3 separate regions of the Homo sapiens genome follow, and all the other regions are linked to region 2. Evidence: promoter capture Hi-C in human tissues and cell types (Jung and others, 2019). All regions are on one chromosome and are shown on one strand. The core of a region is centred on a gene start or on the middle of the fragment in contact, and the rest is flanking DNA. Distances in the headings are between cores, read along the strand shown. Region 1 overlaps ATG10 (autophagy related 10). Region 2 holds the start of CKMT2 (creatine kinase, mitochondrial 2). Region 3 overlaps ATG10 (autophagy related 10).

What was found. Contacts are between HindIII fragments. The study calls those that stand out against the background at their distance.
Region 1: a fragment that was not itself captured here is called in contact with the fragment with the promoter of CKMT2 in region 2 in 1 of the 25 tissues and cell types used here (lymphoblastoid cells).
Region 3: a fragment that was not itself captured here is called in contact with the fragment with the promoter of CKMT2 in region 2 in 1 of the 25 tissues and cell types used here (spleen).

The regions. Positions count from the first base shown.
Region 1 is chr5:82,231,444-82,235,813 of GRCh38, forward strand. All of the region lies in intron 5 of ATG10 (autophagy related 10), which reads left to right. Among named protein-coding and RNA genes, the nearest start is that of RPS23, 45 kb to the right of the region's middle. The HindIII fragment of the contact is 3,326 bases long and covers 769-4,094 here.
Region 2 is chr5:81,230,572-81,235,045 of GRCh38, forward strand. CKMT2 (creatine kinase, mitochondrial 2) reads left to right here and starts at 2,751. Exons shown (of 10, transcript NM_001099735.2): 1 at 2,751-2,806. The HindIII fragment of the contact is 7,118 bases long and covers 900-4,474 here.
Region 3 is chr5:82,251,574-82,255,867 of GRCh38, forward strand. It overlaps ATG10 (autophagy related 10), which reads left to right. Exons shown (of 8, transcript NM_031482.5): 6 at 989-1,086; 7 at 1,741-1,856; 8 at 2,495-4,294. The coding sequence ends at 1,852. Among named protein-coding and RNA genes, the nearest start is that of RPS23, 25 kb to the right of the region's middle. The HindIII fragment of the contact is 4,949 bases long and covers 274-4,294 here.

The sequences.
Region 1 (4,370 bases), core at 1,182-3,681, 1.0 Mb after region 2:
ACCATAATACAATGGTTGTCTGAAAAGCTCTATTACTATGTTTATTTGTAGGAGCGTATGATTTCTCAATACGGCAGCCTATTAGTAGCATAGTTTTTTGTTATTTAGTTTTAAATTATTAGTATTCTAGAAAGTGGGGAAAATGCCTCATAGTAGCCAGGTTTTTATAGGGCAGATCTTTAACATTTTTCGTTATGAGAAGGAGAATCACATATTTTGTAATGGGATTATCGCATGCTTATGAGTTTTCTTCATGGAGTCTCTTTGGAGAGAGCTAAAGAGAAAAACTAATTTTAGCTTAATGAAATCACTGGGAAATCTGCTTCTGGGTATAAAAGGAATCCTTATATTTTCAAAGTTGGGTAAGAAGCAGAAAGGAAAAAAACTGTCAGGAGCTATAGCTGTAACTGGAGTATTAGAAATTTATACTGATTATATTTATCTAAAGAGAAGCATTATAGTATTTTAAAAATCATCTTGAAGATTCATCTCTTTTCTGTTGCTTTAAAATAATATTTGGCACCATTCTAAAAAGTAATGATAGGTAATAGATTGCTATTTTATTTTGTGTTGCTCATAAAATATCTTCCTGTGCGATAGTTGCCAGACATAAGTATCTGGTTATCAATAAATTAGGCTGGTTTTGTGAATGTATTCTTGGAAATCTTTGAATTTTCTGGTTGCTGATTTACAGGGGTGTGCCGCAACACACCTAGCTCAAAAGTGGTGTCCTTGGTTTAGTGTGTGTCTCAGAAATAGACTTAAGTCAAAAATTGTCACCATTCTGTAATGTAATGGAAGAAAAAAAGTAAAGAATTAATGCTTGGAAAGTGCAGGCTTCCAATTGTTTTACTTTAAGATAAAAATAGAATAAACGTACCACCTGAAAGTTGTTTCATACTGAAGTTCTGTATTTAGTCTTAGCAGGCTTGGCATTGGAAAAACTCAATTTTGTTCTTAGATCTGGACATAAGTCTTGGCTCAATCATTTATACATTCCACGACCTTGGATAAGCCATTCCTCCAAATAAATTTCTACAAAATGGGAAGAATACCTACTTTATAGAATTGTGAAAATATAGTTGGGTAATATATATTAATGCATAGCTTGGATTTTTTCTTAATCCCAATCTAATAGCAATCCCTGGAACTTCTAGTCACCAATATATCTCAAATCCATTTATTTTTCTCCATCTTTACTGTCTTCACCCTAATCAAGCCCCTTCTTTCTTGATACAGTAGCTTTCATGGTAGCTTCCTTCCTGCCTCTTTTGCTTTCTTTTCTCTTCTTGTCTTCATTCTCCACCCAGCAGCCAACATTTTTTTTTAAGTGAATAACAGATTCTGTCATAAAGCACTTAAAACTTTCTGTTGTATTTAAAGTAAGTGCAGGAGGGCAGCTTCCTTCTCTCCCCAGGGCTATCAAGCCACTGGACTCTGCCTTCCTTTCTAGCTTCAGGGTTTCTGCTGTCTTCTCTCTCTCCCAATATTCCAGCCTTACAGCCTCCTTTCTGCTCTTGAACACATCTAGTTCACTCCCTTCTAATGGTCTTTACTCTTATATCTTTCTGCCTGAAATGTTCTTCTTCAGGTTTAAAATATGACTTTGAAAGTATTAAAAATATACAAAAAGAATTAGGGCTGATGTCTTTACATAAGACTAATTAGGAAATATATCACTTGTTTTGGTAGTATTTTTCAGGTATATTTTCTTCATTTTATACATTCACTTTCTAGTTTTTCAGTCACTTGTGTAACATCTAACTAGATAATATTTTTCCTATCACATTAGACACCTATGTTATACCTGACTGAACCTGTACCTCTACTGTCTGACACCATCACCAATGTTCTGATCTGAGCCTAAAAATGACTAACGAATTGCCCTTTCAACACATTTCTTCCTTTAATAACCCAGAAGCAGTCTATTATCTGTTAATTTAAACTGAAAAATAAAAATTTCTGACTTCTGATTATCCCAGGAATATATTGTTCCTTCGTTTATATTATATTTGTGTGGCTCCAATTTTAAAATGTGCCTCTGAGGTCTTGTTTACCCTCTTACAGCATCTTAATCATCACTGCTTTAAACGAAAGAGTGAGAGTTTGAACCCATAATCACATGATGGCATTGCCAGCCCATGGGACTATCCCTCATGGACCTTCTAAGTTAAATGAACCAGTGCCATGTTTGAATTCCAGGTACAGATGCTCCATCATTTTGCAGTTAACATAGAGCAGTTCCAGAGAAGGCCCAGGCCCCTCTGCCCTCAACTTCCTTACCTGTCATCTCTCTGTCCCCAACTTTCTTACTATATAGGGGAGAGAAAAAAAACTTTTCTGTCTACCCTCTAATTGACTGCCTAGGGCCTGCAAATTAAATTGACAAAAAACAGATTAGCAGGAGAAAAGCCATACAAATTTTACTTGATTTAACATTTTAGTTTTTACGTGCCCTTACAGAAAAGGCATGGAGACTCAGAGGAGCAGTTAGACCCTGCAGCTTATACACCATTTTAACAAAGGGTGATACATTTGTGGAGAAGTCACAAGAGGAAGCAAAAGGGATTTGGGCTTCCAGGGGCACAGATTATAAGAATGTAAATATGAGGAGAAACTAATGGAAGATAAGGGCGATTTTAGTAAGATTTGTTTGTGCAGACCCATCTCAGTGCCAACATTCTGTGTCCGGTGATACCTGGATGATCTGTTCCAGGTATGGGAGACGGGAGGGGAACACCTTCACAAAGAGAAGTTTATGTCATACTTTTAGGCAGATGGGGGAGGGTAAAGAGCTCTTTCTGAATTTGCTGCGTTTGAATTACCTTTAGCTCAAAATAGTCCTTAAACTAAAGTAGCATATTGGGGGAGAGACCCTTCATCTGCTCTGTTTCCCACAGCCCTCAGCACTGAGCAGGTATCAGGGCCCACCCTGCAGAAGCAGGGCTTAGGGTACCTGGTGTGCAGGACCACTGCTGGGCTCATCCGTAAAACCCTGCCCTAGATTCGTACCTTGAACCCCATTGCCCATGTGTGCATCTCACACCCCAGACTACCTCAGGAAAGGGACAGGTAGAGAGACATGCTAGAAATTGAGTGTCATTTCCTCTGTGTATATTTGAAGGTCACGCTAGCTCTGAAAAGATTTGGAAAGTAAATCAGGGACTTTGAAATCAAACCTCCAAGTTAAATGACCTTGGGCAAGTTAATTGGCATCTCTAAACCCCAGTTTCCTTATCTTTACAATAATTATATGTCAACCTCTTAGTATTATTATTAGAATTTAGGGAGAATCCTAGTAAATGTTCAGTTCATACACTTGTTTGTGTGATTCCCTTTTAGAGGGAATACCCAGTCTAGCTCAGACTCACCTTCCCTGATAAGCTTATCACCCACACATTAGGTGCTTTGCTGCCTAATTCTTTCCTGCATTCTTTTTTGACAACAAAGTATTACTGGAGAAAAATGCAGCATTTATAATTTAAACTAATTATAAACATGTAATTTGTAGCCCATAGTATGTTTGTGCTGTTCCACTTTAATTACGCCCATCAGTTCTTCTCTCTGCTTTCCTGGCACGCCCCTGGAGTATGCATCACACACGTGAATTACCTGATCTGCACAGACTCCTAGGGGATGGGTGTGCCTCCTATTTTGCAGTGGCGGGGAGGGTGCTGTCAGAAACCACGTGCCTTGTGTTTCCTTCTGGAATCAGCTATCATTATGACTCTCTTCTTTCCTTTCCTCTATTCATGCTGGAGAAAGCTAGCCTTTTCCCCTAGGGAAGCAGGTGGTGCTCAATCTTTAGTGAGCATGAGCATTGCCTTGGGAGTTGATCACAGATTTGGAGTGGGTTCCAGGAAATGACATGGTCAACAAGCAACCCCAAATGATTCTGATGGTCCTGGGATCACACTGAGAAATCTGCTCTGCTTTTGTATTGCTTACTTCTCCTCAGACTTTACTCCCACTGTTTTCTTCTCTGTCTCTTTATCTTTAATCTGACATCCTTCTTGGGATTCTTCTCTATATCTTTGGACTAGGTTTTTTATTCTCAAAACAAACAAACAAAATAATTGTTTTTTCCATTGACATGGAGAAAAATGATTGTGGTCCTCTATTCTCCATTATCCACCACACTGTCACCCTCAGGTGAGGGCCGAATAAACATTCTTCTTTCTGCCCTTCTGCACTTGCAGGGGTTTGACTAGAGAGACAGAGAAATTGACAGTATCCTCTACTGACAGCACCTCCTGTCAGGCATTTTTTTAAAGTGGATGTTTTTACTGGAACAAAACATTTTAATGAAAACATTGACTTGGAACATAACAAGGCTTTTAAATAGAGACTTGGAATCCTTTTTGTATTCA
Region 2 (4,474 bases), core at 1,501-4,000:
CAATCTCTGTAAACCGGCCAGAACCGGCTGTGGTCTGTGGTCAGTTATGAGGATGGAGTGCTTTGTAAGGCTGAACACTTGTCAGGGGGAAACTGCGTTGAGGGAAGGGGGGGTTCGCCACGTCAGGTTGTCTGTTGAAGTTGAGGAAGAAATCTTCCAGACATAGTTTTTCAGTAACTGGTTTTAGTTTAATTTTAGGAAAGAAAGTCTTGAGGCAGTTATCGAGGTGGGAGAGCGTTGGGTGTGACTGACCTCTTGCCTTGCCAAAGCTGTAGAATCTGGTTTTTAATGTTTCCTGGGGTCTCTTTTTACCACAATGAGTCTGTTTTGTTTTGCTTGGGGGCCTAGGGGCTTTATTTTTATTTTACATCTTCTTCATAGCAGTGAACTCCTTCAGATATATTATTTACTTCTAAATATTACTTCTAAAGTTCAGGGAGAAAAACAGTTTAGAAGAGGCCCTAAAATTCAAAGAATTTGGGGAAAGCTTTGAAATGATACGAAGGATCAACTAATCACACTTTCTTTGCAGTGCTTAGATTCTTCCTGTGACATCCCCAGCCTATATTTGATACCTCCAGGCACAGAGAACTCACTACTACCTGGAACAGCTCAGTCCATTGCACAGCAGCTCAACGCTCCTGAATGGGTGGTGGAGAGAGGAGAAGCCGCCAGGGTAGAGTCCTGGCCTAATAGTCACCAGGCTCCACCTAGGAGGGGCTTCTGAAATAAGACTCCTGTCTACCCCTAAAATAACTGCAGTGGTTATATGGATTACTATATATGAAAATACTTTAACTTCTATGAAGTTGTGGCAACATTTAGAGCTGATGGAATTAAGTTACAGTTGCTGGACACAAGAATAGACTAAGGAAAGGGGTCCCTCCTGCCCAATTCTGAAATGAGCAATCCAGGCTGGTGCGACAGAGGAACCCAGGTTCCTTTCATCCTATTACTTGCTCATCCCACAAGGCGTCATCCTTGCCTTCGAGGTCAAATCTGGGGCCTGCTCTAGCCACACTCCTGCTGGACTCAGGAACAGAAAAGAGAATAAGTCCAGGACATTTTCCTTTAAAGCAAATGATATGGCAGTCGCACACTTCAATTCTGTTCCTGCCCTTATGGCAGAAGCCAGCCACAGGGCAGCCTGGTGTGGCTAGAGCCCCAGAGCTTCAAAAGGAGTTGGTAACGATGAGAAGGGAATAGATGCCATGTGACAGGGATGGCATTTGAAAGATTTCCAGAAAGCCAGAATTTCTACTGTGAGTCCCTTGTAGAGATTTCATCCCCATCACACCACCTTTATAATAAGCTTGAAGAGGACCAGTCCCCCAAAAGAAGGGTGGTACCCTCTTTTCTCAACAATGACCCAATTTTTCTTCTGACCTTACTAACATAAACATTTACTCTATAAAATATAAGGTGTTGAGGTCGGGTGAGTGGAGGGGGCCCTAAATGTTGATTAGGCAATTGGGGAGGAAAAGGAGGTTTTTGCTATAACTGCCATTCTTTAAATCTACAATTCCATGCTCTTTAAAAGCCTTATAATTTTCTGGATCTGGGAGCTGGGCTATTTCAGGGTCAATGGATTTATTTCAGTTGGTGCCTGAACTGACTTGAAACAAGTGTGTGTGGAAAAGAGCTATTTTGAGAAGGAATAAACCGAGACTGCCCTGATGATAGAATATGCAAGCTGGTGGGTCTTGACTCCTTAAAGGATTATGAAATTAATTTGATTGGTCCCAATCTTTATATAACCACCCCAATCAGGAAACTTCCCATCCCGCCAAAAGGCCCCCTCACGTGCTCTCCCTGTCAGTACCCCATGCAAAGGTAAAATAGATGATATTTTTAAACATGGGTCGTGTTTAAAAGAAATGGAAACTCCTTCAGAGAATGAAGGAGAACCACACTGGGTAGAAGGTTATTCCTGGGGCTCCACCCCTTGCTCCATCAAGTCCTCTGAGCATGAGCTGGGCTCTGAGAAGGAAGAGACAGGAACCAATTGGTCATGTCCACGTGGCCTCAGAAGCTGAGTACGTGACGGTCACCAGATGCCTAGGCAGGCTCCCTTGAAATGGCAGGGCTGCTGTCCAAAATCCTGCTGGGTCATTGCTATTTACAGGCAGCCTTCCCGGCGTGCGGTGGATATCCCAAGCGGGGCTATTTTTAAGCAGGGCTATGGCCTGCCGTGGGTTAAGCTGGTGTGGACAGAAAGCGAGATGATCTAGCCATCTACTGCAGGGGGCCTGATCTTGAACAGAAACCTGACTGTAATTGTCCCTGGATCCAGGTCCCAGACAAAGACGCTGGAAGGAGGTCCCTCCAGCCCCTGGCTCAGGGCCCGGTCAGCTGCTGGAGCCAGGCAGCTTGAGACATCCTCCTCTCCGACCTTGGCTTGAGGGGTTCATCCTCCAGAGCTCACCAGGGCCCCAAGGCTGGTACACCTGAGAGAAGAGAGAAACAAATCCCCCAACAGATGTGCAATTTCACCTGCTGGCCCTTCCATTCTGAGATCCAGAGCCCTGGCAAAGGAGCCTCCAGGACCAGGCCTGGGAAGCAAGACTGGCTCCGCCTTTTACGTTTCAGAGAAAGGGCAGGTGCTATAAAGGGCCCAGCGCCCACGGGCCTGCCTTCAAGGGTACAGCTGTGGGGGCCGGTGCGCCCGGAGGTCTACGCTGGGATTGGTGAGGTCCTCTGGCCCCGCCCCGCCAGGGAGGATTTCCAGGCCGGCCCGACCAGCTCGCCCTGCATACACTTCTTGGCTGTGTGCGCTCAGCAGGACGTGGGAGGCTCCGGCTTCAAGGTCGGTGAGTCCGTGAAACTCTGCTTTATTCCTCCAAAGAGGGGTCATGGCTAGAGCCAGTGTGAAGGGCCTTGGAGGAGTGGATGCCGGGCTGTAGACGGGGACCCCGTTAGGACGCTGACTGCGAGGAGGCAATGGTGACTCGCTAAAGCCAGCAGAGCTCCCGCCCTTGGCCGAAGCGACCCCTCCTCCCTGCACACAGGTGGGGGCAGCTCAGCACCAGGAGCAGAACAAATCAGCACGCTGCCTGCAGGGCCTCTTTTTGGTAGTGAATCAGGAATTTTTCTCGATGGAAAAAAAAATCTAAAGGCTGTATTTTGACGCTAAGTTTGGGACAACTTTAAACTTAAAGTGTCTTTCCCTTGTAATTCACAGAGTCTAATCCACTCATTTCTGGGAATGTTTTTCCCCAGCAGTCTCAGTCTCAAAAGACATGTAAATCAGTGACTTGGGATGAACTAACTAGAAAATTAAAATTTTGAGAAGCTATTTGCTCATAAGCCCAATAGCCAGGCCCAGTTTAAACGGGCAAATAGTATTGCTAGAGATTCAGTTTTGCCGTCACTAATACTAACACATTGATAATGAGACAAGTAACCGTCTCCCCTCCCCACCATCCTTACCTTTCCCACCGGAGGTTAATTAAAAAAAAAAAAAAAAAAAAAAAAACCTATGGAATTGGCCCCACGTGTTTCACCTGGGCAGAGGCCTGTTCTTCACTAGCTTGCTTGCTTGGTTGGTTGTCCCGGGGTTAAAATCAGTCCTGTTCTTGCCCCTAGAGTGGTCTGCCTTCAAATGCTCTCCTCCGAATGTGAGGAAGAGTGACATTTGACAAACAGACCAAAACCTTTAGGTCTCCTCAGTGCTGCCCTTTAGACCTTCCAGAAAGTGTTGCCAGGCTCGTGACCCCTCACAGTGTCAGCTGAGTCAAGTGAGGGGCAGTTAGTGGCCCTCAGGACAAGGTTACGCTAGGTACACCAGTGTGCTGTTTCCAGAAGGGCTGCTTTTCCTGTCTACGGCTCTCACATTTTCTCTGTTCTGAACTCGTGTCCTTGGTCTGTTCTCTCTGTCCTCTCATAGAGGCGAGCATGGCCACAGCATGTGGCCAGAGACTTCCTGACAGGCAGGCTCTTCCGGGAGGCTCTTGGCCTTGTTTGGCGGTCTGAGCACTTCACTTCCTCTGCATTGATAGGCACCTTTTCCAAAGACCCCAGACTTTGGAGTTAATCACGCCTGTGGGTTAAGGCACTGTCACAGCAAAGCACAGGAGTGCCACATGCACCCCATGGACTCTGCCAGCCTCATGACCAAATCATATCATTAGGAAATGGGCCATAGGCAGGTCAGTTTTCCTAAGGAAACTGTGGGTTGGGTCGGGGGGAGTACCATACAGAATGGGGAGTCCTGGGGTTTCAGACACAGGAGGGAGACTGACTTTGCCCCTAGCTCAGAGGCCCTGGGCCTCCATCTCTGCCATAGCCTACAGCAGGCTCCATTTGTCTTCCCAAAGGAAGCCACGTAGAGTCTGTGTCAAGCATTCTGGGAGCTCCTGCCCACAGAGCCAGGAATCCAGCAGCAACCCATGCTGAAGGTGACTGCTGGAGGTCACACTAACCCTTGCCAGGAAGCCTCAGAGACTCCCTCCCTTGGGCGGGGAAGAAGGCAGCC
Region 3 (4,294 bases), core at 1,498-3,997, 1.0 Mb after region 2:
CGGCAGTTTCTCACGGGCCCCGTCATCTGCTGGTGTATTTAGCTGGCATTATCCCCTTAGGTCACCTGCTTTGTCTTCATAGGTATTTGAGTTTGCAGTGTTGGTATAATGGTTAATCCACAATACAAATAATCAATAAATGTATCATCAATAATAGTGTTTTTGTTGGTAGAACTTGTGCACAGATTACCCACTACATAGAAACCTCCTAGGGCTCCCCATTGCTTGCCAAATGATGTCCACGTCCCTAACTTGGGTATGGTCTGACCTATATCTTATATCCAATTACTACCTTATAAAAGAAACAGAGTTACATTTCAGGCTTTTAACTTATAAAAACAGCCCTGTAGGCTTGGGAGAGACAGAAGGAGAGAAATGAGGAAAAAGAAAAACAAAAACTCAGAGACGGAAAGAGAGAGAGAGACAAACAGAAGTAGAACAATTTAAATAGTGCAGGCCATCTCCTCCCATCCCTGGTTCTACTCGTGGAACATGTGCCCACTGGCACTGGATACATGTAGGCTTGAAACAACATGTTGACAAAATTTGTGTAAAGAAATATGCAAATGATTTTGAGTCTCTTACCATTGACAAAGAGGTGAATAAAATGAATTGTTTAGGTTGTCAAACTACTGAGCTTTGTGAACATCCTTGAAGAAAAACTGAAGAATAATGATAGGCCAAAGAGAAACACTGGCCAACAGAGAGGGAACTGATAAAATGCAACTACAGTTTATATTGTGTAAACAAAAATGGGTGCCCTGCTATACTCGACCATACTGCTTTATCAATGAATAGTCCTTTCTCACCAACTTCTTCTGATGTTTGGATTATAAATTGTTTTTAAAAATAGAAAATAAACCTGTATATTAATTCAATAACTTGGAATTTGAGACAAACCTTTATTTTAAAGGAGTAAACCAGATAAATTATTTTAGCCTTTTCAAAGTAACTCACACTGATCCTGGACCAATTCTGATTCTTACAGGAACATCCAATACTTGGGCAACCCTTTTTTGTACTTCATCCCTGCAAGACGAATGAATTCATGACTCCTGTATTAAAGAATTCTCAGAAAATCAATAAGTAAGAAACACCATCAAGATACATTGGCTTCTACTCTGATTTTAAAAGTGTAAATCTTTTTATGTGACTCTAAATGCTAGGCTAAAAAAGAAATATTAATAATAATAATGGCTAACACAATGATTTTTAGGATATGCTAGATGCTGTTCTAAGAGTTTTAGATACAGTAAGACATTGGATTTTTGCAGCATTCCTATGTGCTAAGTACTATTATTTTGCCCAATTTACAGAGGAGGAAGTTACAGAACAGAGGAGTTAAGCCACTCAAACAAGGTCACACAGCTAGTTAAGTGGTGGGATTTGAATCTAAGCATTTTGGCCTCAGAACCATGCTCTTAATCACTGCACTCTGCTACCTTAGTAAGTGCTGTAAACTGTAAGGGTAAAATTTGAATCATCAAGGGAAGTCAGGAGCCAGTACCTTACCTCATTCTTCAACTACCCTAATGAGGGATCCTTACAGGCTCTCTGGACCTTAAATTCTTGTCAAGCAATGGGGCTGGCATTCAGAAATGCTGAGATTCCAGGTGGTAGGTACAAATCTTTGAAGAAAGCCTCACTTTTGTTATTGTTGGTGACCAACTGATGTTCTACCATTCATCCAAAAACTACAATGGAAACGTTAGCATGGCCTGTATTTCACTTGTTTCCTAGGAATGTCAACTATATCACATCATGGCTGAGCATTGTAGGGCCAGTTGTTGGGCTGAATCTACCTCTGAGTTATGCCAAAGCAACGTCTCAGGATGAACGAAATGTCCCTTAACAAGGTAAAAGAAAAGCCTGGATTTAATGTTTTGCCGTTACAAAGATCAATGTCTCCATTGCATTTAGACTCATCCCACCAAATGCAAAATTTGCTTTCATCTTTAGTGGGCAAACCCTGACTTAATTTTTAGTTTTCCAATCAGTCCCCTACCAAGTTATTTAGGACAGGGATCCCCAAATCCCAGGCCATGGACCGGAACCAGGCCTCACAGCAGGAGGTGAGCGGCAGCTGGGTGGGCAAGCAAGCGAGCATTACCACCTGAGCTCTTCCTCCTATCAGATCAGCTGCAGCATTGGATCTGCATAGGAATGTGAACCCTATTGTGAACTGCGCATCTGAGGGACCTAGGTTGCGCGCTCCTTATGAGATTCTAACCAATGCCTGATGATCTGAGGTGGAACAGTTTCATCCTGAAACCATCTCCCATTCGGTCTGTGAAAATGGTTTTCCCTGAAACTGGTGCCTGGTGCCAAAAAGGTTGGGGGCCACCAATTCAGGAAATATTTTACTTTGCTGTAAGTAGCATGCACTCAGTGACAGGAATGGATAGTTTTATTTTAGTACTGATATTCTTAAATAAGTCTTTACTGCTCAGTTATTTTTCTTTTATTCTCTTGGCTTTTGTTTTATGTTCTTCAGATTCTTCTATTGAGTTTAGGAATTGCGGCACGAAGAATGCCAAGAGTTTACCTGGCCAGCCCTGGCTTTAATAGGACTGATACCATGGAATATTTCATCTCACCAAGATGTGACATGGATTATTTTTCCCTTGGACACAAATGTCTACAGCAACTGGTGTTTGATAGGCTGAATGTTTAGAAGAAACACTTCAAAGGGATACATCATGGCCAGGCATGGTGGCTCACACCTGTAATCCAAGCACTTTGGGAGGCCAAGGTGGGAGCATCACTTGATCCTGGGAGTTCGAGACCAGCCTGGGCAACATGGTGAAACCCTGTCGGTACAAAAAAATACAAAAATTTGCCTGTTTATGGTGGTGTGTTCCTGTAGTCCCAGCTCCCCAGGAGGCTGAGGTGGGAGGTTGGCTTTAACCCAGGAGGCAGAGGTTGCAGTGAGCTGAGACTGTGCCACTGCAGTCCAGCCTGGGTGACAGAGCCAGACACTGTCTCGGGGAAAAAAAAAAAAAAAAAAAGACACATCACTATAAATAGCAAAAAAACAAATCTAACTTATTAATACTAGGAATACCAACATTATTAGGGCACTTGCAGGTTATTCTTTTCTAGGCCAAGTACTTCACTTCCATTTGTCTGACATGGAGATTGAGGGAGAAATGTATTTGTGTGTTCATTTTAATGTAAGATATATAAAAATTAAATTACTGGATTTACCTGTCCCTGAAACTGGTGTTATAAACATGACCTATCTTAAGTGATTTTCCCACAATCAAACTCAGGAACAATAGATTATTTCTGTTTTACTCCAAAAGAGAGAGAGAGAGTGAGTGTGAGTGTGTGTGTGTGTGTGTGTGTATGTGTGGGTGTTTGTGTAGATAGTTGTAAAACAAAGAAAAAACACAATATTTTACTGTGAGATAATATGTTTTACCAGCAAAGTGTGGCATAGTAATTAGAAGTTTTCTAAAAAGCTATAGGAGATATTTAAACATTAAAATTTCTTTTTGACCTATAGTAATAAAACAATGGTCATTTTACCCCTCTGCTTCTCAACCCCACAGCTGCTCTGCTGTACTCTTTGAGGGCTCTTGAGCGAGTCTTCATGTCCCTGAGACTTATTTTCCTCATCTTTAATTTGAAACTAACAAGCTACCTCATAGGGTTGCTGTGAGAACCACATGAGATCATTAATGCATGATAAGATATTGTAAAGTATTATACGAATATTCATTAAATGCTCACCTTTCTTGTATATAATTGGTATTCACTAAGGCTGTAAATAAGTTTCATAGCCAGTTAAGTATTAAGATAAACCTAACCTGGAACAATTTTTTTTTTGGTTGCTTGTTTTGTTTTTTGCTTTCATTTGCTAGGAGCTGAAACGAAGATTAAAATGTCATTGGCTTTTTAGAGAGTCTAGATTAGTGTGTCTTTGAATGAGGGATATACTTAAAATCACCTGAGGATCGTTTACAGCTACAGATGCTGGGGCCACCTGACACAGTCTCTCTGGGGGTGATTCTGCTCTGGAGAACCTCTGGTCTGGATATACCTTTATTGTGACATTGATTTGTATTGTTTTGCTCTACTGACAGGCCTTTTCCAATCCATACAAGCTGAACTTGCTTCCTAATGTTTGTCTAGGCCTTACATGGATAGTAAGGAAGCTTAGGAGACATGTACACAAGGCAGCCCACTTGTAGGAAACTGCTTCAGGTGAGGACATCATTCACCAGTGGATCACCGAGCACCGTGACAGCACCCTCAGTCCACGTCTGCAGATTAAGAGCTGAACTCTCAC